Linked DNA regions of Homo sapiens: region 1 is linked to region 2. Evidence: promoter capture Hi-C in human tissues and cell types (Jung and others, 2019). All regions are on one chromosome and are shown on one strand. The core of a region is centred on a gene start or on the middle of the fragment in contact, and the rest is flanking DNA. Distances in the headings are between cores, read along the strand shown.

Region 1 (6,359 bases), core at 3,004-5,503, 790 kb before region 2:
GTCAATTTAAGGTGGTAACCATGGCCAACAACATTCTCTCTCACCTATCATACTAATGCCATATAAGTAGTAGTGTTTTTGTTTTTTCAAGTGGGGAAATATATACAGCTCAAAAAAACAAAAAAATATCTAGCAACTAACTCCTTGGCAGTTCCCTTGACTCTCTGACCTTTAAGTCCCAAGGTTCTAAGTATACAATGAATAAGAAAACTACCTGTTCAAACCCAACAGAATATGTTTTTTTCTGGTTTGATTAAGGCTTCGAATTTGGAACATAAATACTCTCAGTAATACTTAGTAATTCATGAAGTTACTGCTTGTGTAAACTTGCAGAATATTTAACTTTAGGAGATTATAAATCCTAACATGCCCCTAGGGGCCTTCTGCTTTTATTCCTACATACAAAACATACAACATGTTTGTTTTTAAAAACAATGCACATAGGCCAGGTGTGGTGGCACACACCTGTAGTCCCAGCTACTTGGGAGGCTGAGGCAGAAGCATCACTTGAACCCAGGAGGCAGAGGTTGCAATGAGCCGAGATCATGTCACTGCACTCCAGCCTGGGTGACAGAGCGAGACGCTGTCTCAAAATAAATACATACATACATACAAAAAAATTAAACCAATACACGGAAGTATTACTTCCATAAAACAAACCAGGAAGTACAGTAAAACAGAAAACATTAGCATTTGGGCCTTTTGTGTGAATTACATTTCTCCACCTTCAACCCAGAAAAGGGATCTGAGTGTCAATGTGACATAAATGACATAGCAACAGTGTGAGGTCTCCCAATGAAGGGAGGTATTAGAAGAAAATCCAAGCAGTTTGATTTGGATTAATAGTTCTACCCCAAACACCTAAGAGAAATCGGAATTCCAGTACTGTCTCTTACAATATAGTCATCATCTATACACCTTTTTACCACGCCATATAAGCAAAATAAAGTCACAATGTGAAACTTTACTCCACTGGCTATTACCCTCTGGAACCAAAAGATGGAAAACTTCATTTGGGATATACAGTAATCTAAAGAAAAATTCAGCACTTATGAATGTAATAACTACTGTTACCATTTGAATGCCTCTTACAAACCAGGCACAGTATCAGATGCATATTCTGATTTTAGAAATAAACAGATTCAGAGGTTAAATAATCTGCCAAAAACAACAGGATTACTAAGTGGTGGAAGCCAGATCTGTTTAGGATCCAAAGCCTAAATAGGTTCTTTTCACTAAATTTAATACTATTTCCTTAGTTCTCCAAACTGATTTATTAACAGCCTATCCAAAACACTATAATAAAATGAACTGCTTTAAATTTGGAGGCAAGGTAGGGGTGGGATACTGAGTTTCAATAATCAGGTTTCTTCATTATTCTTTTACCTGAATGGGCTGGCCACCAGGCCACAATTGTATAAAAATCAGATTTTAAATGATGGAAAAGCTTTTCTGTGTGGCTACTGAAGGGAGAAAGGAAGACAACTGAGACATGCCCCACCTTGCTGGCTGGGGGCTGGTGACATCTGTGGGCCTCAGTGTTGGACTCCAGATGCAACAAAGCCTAAAGTTTTGAATATGTATGAAGGTCAATGTGATGTTTTCCAAAAACAGTCATAAAAGATGGCTGTGAAAAACCCCCTAGTATAACAACTGTATGTAACAAGAGCATATAGGTAGCTGCAGATGAATGCTCAGGTCCTTAGCTGTGGTGTTTAAAAATTCTTCAGACCAGGCTGGGTGCAGTGGCTCACACCTGCAATCCCAGCACTTTGGGAGGCCGAGATGGGTGGATTGCCTGAGCTCAGGTGTTAGAGACCAGCCTGGGAAACACAGTGAAACCCCATCTCTACTAAAATACAAAAAAAAAAAAAAGCCAGGCGTGGCAGCGTGCGCCTGTAGTCCCAGCTACTTGGGAGGCTGAGGCAGGAGAATTGCTTGAACCCGGGAGGTGGAGGTTGCAGTGAGCCAAGGTCGTGCCACTGCACTCCAGCCTGGCAACAGAGTGAGATGCTATCTCCCAAAAAAAAAAAAAAAAAAAAAAAAAAAAAAAATTTCTTCGGACCAGTGTGGTGGCTCATGAGTGTAATCTCAGCACTTTGGGAGGCTGAGTTAAGAGGACTGCTTGAGCCCAGGAGTTTGAGACCAGCCTGGGCAACATGGTGAGACCTTGTCTCTACAAAAAAAATTAACAACTACCCACAAAGAAAACCCTAGCTCAAGATGGCTTCACTGGAAGGAAAAATGAACTGGTCAGGAAGACAGACAAATAGAAGCAAATAATGAAAGCATTTTATTTGACATTGATAACCTTCTCACAATAAATTATGTGGCAAAATACATGCTTGAATACTTAATTGCTAGGCAATAGTCTATTTTCATTTTTTCACAAAAGGTAGACAACTCCAAAGCAGATGGCCATTTGTAGCCATTCTATATAATCATAAATACACAAAACACTGGCCGGGCGCGGTGGCTCACGCCTGTAACCCCAGCACTTTGGGAGGCTGAGGCGGGTGGATCACCTGAGGTCAGGAGTTTGAGGCCAGCGTGGCCAACATGGCGACACCCCGCCTCTACTAAAAATACAAAAATTAGCCCGGTGGGGTGGCATGCACCTGTAATCCCAGTTACTTAGGAGGCTGAGAGAGGAGAATCACTTGAACCCAGGAGGCAGAGATTGCGCCACTGCACTCCAGCTTGGGCGACAGAGCAAGACTCCATCTCAAAAAAAAAAAAAAAAAAAGTTTTAAAGTGCCGATAAATACAAGTTCCTGGTCTGCCTACAGTTTATCACTTAATAATACAAAGCAAACAAGAAAGCAAGTTAGTGGATTACCTGAGAGAGCAAGACATAGAGAAGATGTTAATGCAGGGAGCTGGCCTTCTCCAAACATATCCCTAACACACAATATTCAAGCAATTCCCAAACTGTGATCAGAGAACCACTGGGAGTAAGACCTCTGATCTATATTTACAAGTCTATAGGTGAGCAAAGGTAGACCTTTTCCTGAGTCTGAGATGGGAATATTACCTTCTCTATCTAGAAGCAAAAGAATCCTAGACTCACCAGGACTAGGTAATAGACACTGTACACGAGTAATTGAGGTAATCTACACTGGGCGTGACTTACATACTGATCCACCCCTAGGCAGCAATTCATACCTCACCCACCCAACAGGCTACATTAGAAACAAGGAAGTACAGGTCAAAAGTCTCATTAAAAAAATAAGAACTCTTGGCAGCAGAAAATGAAAATAAAGAATGAAGAATGACAGCACTGGCAATAAACACATTCTTTTCTCCGAAAGGGAAGGGAAAGAACTAATGTTGGGCACCCACATGCCAGACATTTTATCAATTTTCTCCTTTAATCCTCAATAATCCTGAGATAATACTAGCTAGTACTCTAGTTATTAATCCTCACAAAAATCCTGAGGTAGGTACTACTAATTCCCATGTTACAGGTGAAGAAACCAAAAGTTAGTAAGTTGCCCAAGGTAGTTGTTATCCGAACTGTAGAGACAAGAACTCCCAGACTTGAAGAGGTTAAGTAAACTTCCCCAAACTCAAAGTGGGAGTTCTTTCCCACTAACCTATTGCCTTCCCCTCCCTACCCGCAATCTCAATTAATTCTCTATTCTACCCCCTTCTCATTTCTGCAGCTGTTTCAAAAACTACACCTAAGATACAAAGCAAATAGGAGTTATTATAAGAAAACACCTCCAAAATCTACTAAGTTGTGGTATGATATGCCTGTTATCAGAAAACGTCACTCAATTTTGAGCTTGGAGGGCAGTGACAGTTTGGAGATCTTTAGCACAACGCCTGCCAGAAACGTGGCAGGCGCTCAGGATCTGCTGAATGAACAACATCTTCTGAGTGGTTATGAATTCAATAACCCAAAATGACCATCTCGTATTTCTGGATATGACATGATACCATTTTTTGGAAAATAATTTACCCATTCATTTTAAACAGGGTAGCTTTCTTAAAATTTATAGAACATTGATGAGATAGCTAAACTGAGAAATGCCCATTAAAGCATTAGTCATAACTTCAGGAAAATTTCAAATGTTCACTTTTCCAAGCAAATTAAAATGTTTCAGCTAATAAAAACCTGTCAGAAAAACCCACAAGACAAGAAAGTATAAAAAGAAAAGAGCAGCCAATATAAGGGCATTTAAGATGTCACACATAAAAAATTATAAAACATTAATCTAACTTGTACCTTGGTATTTAACCCTAAAACTGTCACCTCAGATAACACAATATTTTCTATGCAAGAAAACATTATCACCACGAATGTAAAGAAGCTTGCCGACCATAGCAACTGTTGCTACGTAGGGTTTTTTAATGTCTAAGACTGAAAGACAGAATTTGTAGAAACCAGTTAAAATGCCACTCTTAGCAGTATCTTGTGATACTGTGAATGCTTTCACCTTAAACTTTTTAAAAGACTCAATCTTTGACTTCTACATGTGAAAAAAAAAAAGTACATCTGGGAGCACTCAACGTAAGAAAACTACCAATTGTCTATAACCCAATGAAAATACATCCTTTGTTACAATGACAGCAGCTACTTTTCCTTAATAATCCTAGAGGAATTTCTTCATTTGAAAAGCTGGCTGGCCTAGATTTCTCTATAAACTAAATGACATGCTACTTTCGAAATTATCCATTTCAGAAGTTCAAAGAAATTCAGGTATAAGAACACATTAATACTCTCATGAAACAAACCTTATCCAGGTTACCCACGAATTGTGACAGATCAAAACCCAGTTTCTCATTTCAAATCAAGTATCACATTATTTATTACCTTAAAATACTAAGCCCTTACCTAATTCAATGGCAAATCATATTGGTTTTCAGTTTCTGAACTTGTACAAATCATACTGTAATATTTATGCAAAAGTTGTCATATAGTTGAATATTATAGACAGTTAACATCTTTTTTTTTTTTTTTTGAGACGGAGTCTTGCTCTGTCCCCCAGGCTGGAGTGCAGTGGCGTGATCTTGACTCACTGCAACCAACCTCCGTCTCCCAGGTTCAAGTGATTCTCAGCCTCCTGAGTAGCTGGGACCACAGGCACGCACCTCCACACTCAGCTAATTTTAGTAGAGATGGGGTTTTACCATGTTGGCCAGGCTGGTCTTGTCCTGACCTCAAGTCATCTGCCCACCTCGGCCTCTCAAAGAACTGGGATTACAGGTGTGAGCCACCATGCCCGGCCAACAGTAGAAAAGGGTACTCAGGGAACATAGTTCAAAAGTCATGATTCTCTATTGGCTGGACCAGGATTCTAGACTAGCTCTAGGGCTGAGATATCTTAGTAGACCAGTTAACATTCATGTGGCCCAATTTCCCTTACTCTAAACCCAAAGTCAAACATAACCTCTAAAGTCTTTCATACCCTGAAATGCTAATCTTGTAATCATCTTTCTATTCAGGTAATAACTCAAAAGAAATGGTCTCACTTCCTTCATCCTCTGACTAAAGTTTAGTTAGTCCATATTTTATGAATCCAATTAATAGGATACTTTAAAGAACAAAAAGAAAAGACTTTTCTTAAAAGCTAGAAACTCCATTCTGTAGTGATGATTCCCAGATCTGACTCTTAAACTCAACAACCTCAACAGACAATGACAGGGAGAAAAGATCTTACAAGTTTGAGCTGAGCTGGGGTGGGGTGGGAGGTGTGAGAGAACAGAGAGACAGTTACAAATTCACAAAAATGTATCACCCATTTCCATCTCCTCTAAAAAAATATGAAATAAGCCTTAAAAGGCTGTCATAGAAACCCATTATTAAGCCAATAAAAACTAATGAAGAAATTATGTCATTTATCCAAGATATGGAAGAACCACCTATTTACAGAAATCCTACCAATGTCCTAGACCTTCAGAAACTACATCTCACTAAGCTGACCATCAAGCCCCTTCAAACTGCATCTAAGGACAATAATAATATTCAAACATCAAGAAACAGGCACAGGTTCCACTCAACACCATTATTCCGTGGAGTCTTCCAGGACTAAATTGTTTTATAGAATCTTTGCTATCTTTGTTCTCTAGAAAATGATATCCCAAAGACTCTAAAATAAAACCAGCAAAACCCCTGTATTTGTTTTCCATTGTGTCATAACAAATTATCACAAACAAAACAACACAAATGGATTATCTTACAGAAGTCAGTGGGCTTGACTGGGTCTCACAAGGGCTAAATGAGGGTATCCAGTGGGTGGGTTCCCTGCTGGAAACTCTGGGGAAAATTTGCTTCCACATTCATTCAAGCTATTGGCTGAATTTAGTTCCTTGCAGCTGTAGGACTGAGTTCCCACTTCCTTGCTGGTTGTCAG
Region 2 (6,187 bases), core at 114-2,613:
CAGCACCTAGCACATAATAGGCATTCAGTAAAAGTTAGCTGTTTATTCATTGTTTCAGCGCTTACTTACTCAGCACCTGCTAAGTCTGAGTACTGTTCTAGGTATCAGCAGTGAAGGAAAGAAGACTTGGTCCCCAAATGTACTTTCTTTGGGGGAAGAGCTGGATAAATAGGCTTTGTGACTCTGTGTGCTGTGTTAGATGGTGGGAGGCACTGGAGAGAAAGAGCAGGACGGAGGGTCATGTCAGGAGGTTCAGAAGCCTTGCTGGCTGGGTGGGGTGACATTTGAGGAAAGGCCTAATGGGGTGGGCACGGCCATTGCAGAGCCTCTCAGGTGGGAGTTGGTGTTGTGTTTAGAGGACATCTGCCAGTGAGAAGCCAGTTGTGCAGAGAGGGAGTAAGGAGGAGTAGTGGGGAGGAAGCTGGAGAAGTGAGAGGGGCCAGATCCTGGAGGGCCTGGAGGTCATGGTGAGGACTTTGGCATTTACTGTAGTGAGATGGGAGCCACTGGGGGATTTGTAGCAGCAGAGTGCCAAGGTCCAAGGGTTATTTTGACAGGCCTCCTCTGGCTGATGTTTGGAGGATGGGCTACAGGGCAGGAGTGGGAGCAGGAGCCCAGGTGGGAAGTGATGGTGGTGGAATTGTCATGAGCTTGGGCCACTGTACGTGAAGCTGCCTGTCCAGTGCTCGCCCAGCCCATACCAGGCTCGTTTTCTGCCCCATTTTCTGAGACCCTGCTGAGGAGGGCATGCACTGGCTCCTGTGTCCAGTATGTCCTTCCATTCTCCTGACTTTGTGGGCTATTTTCAGTCTCCAGATGAAGAAACCAGTTCTTAGAAAGGTGAAGCCCCTGGCGCAGTTCCCCAGCAGGTGTTTCAGTGCTGTGGCAGGAAGGTTTTTTGATAGAAACAGCCTCAGGCCAGAGAAGTCGGCCTGAGCTGTGGATTCCTTGGGAGAAATGGGCTTTTTGCCTGCCTGCAGCCTCTGGTTTCGGCTGGAATTGGCCTTTCAAGGAGCAAAGTGTGGATCTCATCTCCTTGAGCACAGTCATGGGCAGTCAGAAGGCATCGGGGGCCCTCATGATGTCTGGGTGAAGAAAATCACTCAGCCCTTAATCAAACTTGGTCCAGGGCTGGGATCAGAAGAAGAAACCCCACTTCACACTTGACTGCTTGGAGTGAAGCACTTCGAAAGGAAGCTGCCTGGGAAGTCCCAGAAGGGAAGGGGCAGGGAGGGAAGGGGACAGGGTGAGAGCAGGTCTCACTCATCCCAATCCCAGCCAGGATTGGGTCAGGGCCCCCAGCGCTTACCTGCAGGCAAGGTGCTGCTCCACGACCTTCTCCAGCTGCTGCCGCTGCTGAATCTGTTTCCCTCCCTGAAACGTAGCCCTGTCTCTCAGCTGGCTTCCTGATCTGGGAAGGGTGGTGCCTGTCCCCTGTTCAGCTGACTCACCTTGGACTGGGATGGGCACAGGTGAGGGCTGTGGCTGGGTAAACAAGGCAGGTTGCCAGCCCAGAGGAGGCCTTTGGCCTTAGTCTGGATTTGGAGGTGGGATTAAGGCCCTCACAGCTGCTGTTCAGACGGTTATGAACCAAGACTTCTTGGCCTTTTCTTAAATAGCTCTAAATTTGGGTTGGACACCTAGTCCTGCTGATCGAGGCAGTTGGCTAGAGGGCGGTTTGTGATAGGTATCTAGGGGTCTAGGCCAGGATATTAAAAAGTGGTCATATCCTGTGACCCAGCATTTCTTCTAGGAATTTGTTACAGTGGAGTCACAGGGCCCATCCATCACTGCTGCTTCTAGTAAGGAAAATGTAGAAATCCCAAATGCCCATCTCTGTGGTCTGCTTGAATAAATCATTGTCTGTGGAAGATCACAGAGCTATTAAAGTCACTTAAGGAAGAAGGTATGAGGAAACATTTCTGAGATTCTAGTGAGATGTTGAAAAATCAATATTGTGAATCTCTTCTTGCATTTTGTTTTCATTTTTTGTAAAGTGGATGTGCGTTGAAAGCAGTCTAGGAGGACATACGCTAAAATGCTGAGTATCTCTGAATGGCAGCATTGAGGGTGAGGTTTTCAGTTTGTACTTTTGTGTGTTCCAAGGTGGTTTTTTTTTTTTTAAGTTAGCTTTTGCTCTGAATGCTCATGACTTTTGTAAGGGGGAAGCAATTAAGTTTGATTATTTTAATGGGAATTTAGAGTGGTTGTCTCTTGGGAGCAGACCTAAGGAGCTGTGTGCTGAGGTGGAGATTTTTTTTTTTATGGCACATTTTTGGTGTCTTAAATTTTGAAAAGTTTAAATGTACTACTTATTCCAAAAATAATTATATAAATTTGAACAGAAAAGGAGGAAGAATTTAGTTTAGATCCTGGTGGGTTTGGTTGGGTGAGGGTGCCTGTCGCACTGGGTGCCTGGGGAGGGACGAGGGACTCGTGTGCTGGGCAGTCCCATGAGGATTGACGCTGTACACACTCAGGGTGTGTCAGTATCTGGGCTGCTTCCTGGGCCAGGCAGGCCTACGTCACAGTTCCCATGACCCACCTGGCAGAGTTGCACTAGCCTTGGGTGTCAGATCTTGTGCCTGCCAATGAAGAGCTTACAGCCCAGAGTCCCACACAGGAAACACACAATAGGAATAATAACAAGAAAGACATTTGCCACTAATTCAGCACTTACTCCCAGAGAGCACAGAGATTCTACCCCTGGCACTTTAAAGGCATTATCTCAATGGCTTCTCATGCCATCCCTGCAGAGTAGGTGTGACTCACACCATTCCTCCAGGTGGGGACACTGAGGCACAGAGGCAAAGTTTCTCTCTCAAGTTAGCTGGAAAGTGGGCCAAGTTCATGTCTTCTCTTCTATGGGACATACTGTTTCAGAAAGCTGAGGTGTGGGGCAACCTCAGAGTAAGCTGTGTGGGCCTGAAGCTGAGGTAACGTGGGTGATGGACCCACCTTAGGTCAGGTGTCCAAGGCCAAAGCAAAGTGGAAAATAGAGATCCTAACTAAACCAAGCCACTCCTCCCCCACCTCACTTCATTCAGTCATGACCTGAAAGGGCCTTTATAGAAGAGGGAGGAGGAAGCAGGCCCTTCCAGGTAAGGGGCTTGCCTGTGGTCCCAGCATGTCAGCATGGAGCCCAGGTCCCCTAACTCCCACCTATTTAATACCTACAGGGACTCTCTTTCTATTCCCTCTTTGGATAGTTGCCACCCATCACTGACTTCCAGCCACCTGGAAATATCTTTCATTGGGCATGCCCTTGCTCGAACTCTTCAGTGGCTCCCTCCTGCTTCAGGGTCTGGGCTAAACTCCCAGGGCTGACATGGAGACCTCCACAGCCCACTCCCTTTATTACCTCCTCAGCACTCCCCCAGCACCTCTGCCTCAGCTGGACTGGGAGCCCCACCATTCCTGCCCCACTGCACACCCACTTCCTACCTGCCCTGACTCCATACCTTTGCCTGTCCTGCTGCTGCCCCTGGAACACCTTCTCCTGCCCCCACCCACCTAGCCACATCCACCACTGAGCTCCTCCAGGAAGCCTCTGGGATCCCCCACATCCATGTGGCCTCTCCCGCCTCTGACTCTGGATCAGACGCTCCTGTTCCATTCTTTAATAATCATCATCTTGTACTCATGTGTACCTTTTAGGCTACTAGTTAGACCCTAAGTTCCCTGAGGGCAGGGCCAAGTTATTAGCTCTACAGTGGTCATTCTTTTGAGACAGCATTTCGCTCTGTCACCCAGGCCATAGTGCTGTGGTGCAATCATGGTTCACTGCAGCCTCCACCTCCCAGGCTCAAAGGATTCTTCCACCTCAGCCTCCCTATTAGCTGGGACGACAGGTTCACACTGCCACACCTGGCTAATTTTTTTATTTTCTGTAGAGACAGGGTTTTGCCATGTTGCCCAGACTGGTCTCAAACTCCTGGGCTCAAGCAGTCTGCCTGCCTGAGCCTCCCAAAGTGCTGGGATTACAGGTGTGAGACCCCACACCCAGCCAGTTACTCTTTTCAAAATAAGGAGTGGAACTGTGCTCTGACCAGACAATATTTCTGCTTTGTTATATATTTGTATGAACAAGTCTAAAACTTTGGGTGGCCAGTAAACAGCACACACTCAGAAACTCCCTGGTAGCACCCATGGCACCCTGAGTAATCAACCACTAATGTCCTTCCTGCTGGGCCCAGAGGCCTCTCCGGATCCTCTCGTCATAATGCTGCAGGCAGCTACCGTCACCTAGAGTTGGCTCATGAGGTGAAGTCTCCATGCCATCTGGAATGGGTGCTCCATGATGGCAGGGGCTTGTCTTAACCCTGAGGCCTAGTACTATGCCTGGCACATAGCAGGCTCACAGTAAATTTTTTTTTTTTTTTTGAGATATGGTCTTGCTCTGTCTGCCAGGCTCAAGTGATCCTCCTGTCTCAGCCTCCTACGATCCTCCTGCCTCAGCCTCCCAAGATCCTCCTGCCTCAGCCTCCCACAATCCTCCTGCCTCAGCCTCCTGAATAGCTGGGACCACAGGCGTATGCCACCACAGCTGGTTAATTTTTGTATTTTCTGTAGAGATGGGGTTTTGCCATGTTGCCTAGGCTGGTTTTGAACTCCTGGGCTCAAGGGATGTATCCACCTTGGCCTCCCAAAGTACTGAGATTACAGGCGTGAGCCACCACACCTGGCCTCAGTAAATATTGACTGAGTGAATAAATGCCCCTCCTAGAAAAGTCAATCACAGTTAGAAACTTAAATGGCTGACCCTTATTTAAAAGATGGGTTGGGCTGGGGCATCCGATCTGAGTCCCAGCTCTGTGATGTTGCACATGTTACTAAACCTCTCTGAGCTGTAGTTTCCACACCTACCTTCTTTATAGACTTATCCTGAAGACTAAATGAGGTAACCATGTGAAGTACCTAGGACACAGCTGGCATTTAGTAAATGTTAGTTTCCTACTTTCTCATGGCTACATGTCACAGAAACAGTCATCTGATTGGAGTGAAAATAGAGATGCTCTTCCCAGAAGAAGAGAGAATGTCGGCTGGGCAGAGAAGGAGCTGCTCTACACTCCAGCCCTCTGCATGGAATCTGGGTAGTGCAGCAAGACCCTGGCTTATGTCATCACAGCTTTGTTCCTACTGCTGAATTGAAATAATAACAGGAAGCGTAGCATTTATTGAGCTCCTGCACACTGGGTGCTCTGCTGGGCACTGGGCATACACTGATCTCATCTGTTCACCATAATTCCCAGCTTCAGAGTGAAGCACTTTGCCCAAGGCAACACACCCCAAGAGTGGTAAGGCCAGGCCTTGGCTCTGAACCTCTAGGAGTCTCCTACCCTAGTGCAGCTGAGTCACAGATTTCTCTTTAAGAAACCCACAAAGAAGTCCTTAGGTGGCAAAAATTTGATCACATGGCCACATAGAGCTGCATGGGAGACTGGGAAATGGAGGCAGTCTATTGTTAGCAGGTTCTGTGCCAGCCTCTACTATAGCATGCTGTGAAGCCCTGCCCTTTCTGGACCTCAGTCTCCGTATTTGGCCAGGGAAGAGTTTGGATGGATTTTCTCTGAGGTTTGCCCTAACGGTACTAAGGCCCCACAAAGGGCCAACTCTATTGCCACTTCCAGTCCCTCCTGTGGCGTGAACACCAAAGATGTCCACTATGAGCATTTGGTCTCCAAACACAATGTCCTTCATGCTATTTCTGAGCTCCATCTTGGTTTTGCTTTTTGGAGATGTGTGTGAGTTAAGGTAGGCCAGGTTATGCTGCAGCAACAAACAACCCTGAAATCTTGGTGGCTCCTAATAGGAAGTGTCATTCTCATGCACGCTACTACCCGTCAAGGGCTGGCAGGGTCCCCATGTCTCCTTACTCCAGGACTGGGGGTGATGGAGCAGCTGCCATCTCAAAGGCCGTCAGAAGCCACGGCAGAGGGAAAGAGATCTCTATCTGGCAATTAAGTGCTCCAGCCCAAATGACAGATGTCACTTCTCACACCTTGTTGGCCAGGTTACCCCACCTCCCAATCACAAGGGAACAGGGAGCTGCCATCCCACCACATGCCTGGAAGGCAAAGAGTAGGAAATATAGGAGGATGACATTAATAACAACCTCAGGCCTCTGTTCCAGAGTGTCTGCCAGCCAGCTCTGATCATCTGTGTCAGGGCAGGGGTAGCAGATGTG

The links. The method cuts DNA at HindIII sites, captures the fragments that hold promoters and counts their contacts. A contact is called where the count stands out against the background at its distance.
Region 1: a contact is called between a fragment that was not itself captured here and the fragment with the promoter of SDCBP2 in region 2, in 1 of the 25 tissues and cell types used here (adrenal gland).

The regions. Positions count from the first base shown.
Region 1 is chr20:533,013-539,371 of GRCh38, forward strand. The region is part of intron 1 of CSNK2A1 (casein kinase 2 alpha 1); the gene reads right to left. Among named protein-coding and RNA genes, the nearest start is that of CSNK2A1, 7.6 kb to the right of the region's middle. RefSeq lists an enhancer at 1,670-1,719. The HindIII fragment of the contact is 8,277 bases long and covers 116-6,359 here.
Region 2 is chr20:1,327,776-1,333,962 of GRCh38, forward strand. It overlaps SDCBP2 (syndecan binding protein 2), which reads right to left and starts at 1,364. Exons shown (of 9, transcript NM_080489.5): 1 at 1,310-1,364. All of the region lies in intron 2 of FKBP1A-SDCBP2 (FKBP1A-SDCBP2 readthrough (NMD candidate)), which reads right to left. The region is part of intron 1 of SDCBP2-AS1 (SDCBP2 antisense RNA 1); the gene reads left to right. The HindIII fragment of the contact is 26,056 bases long and covers 1-6,187 here.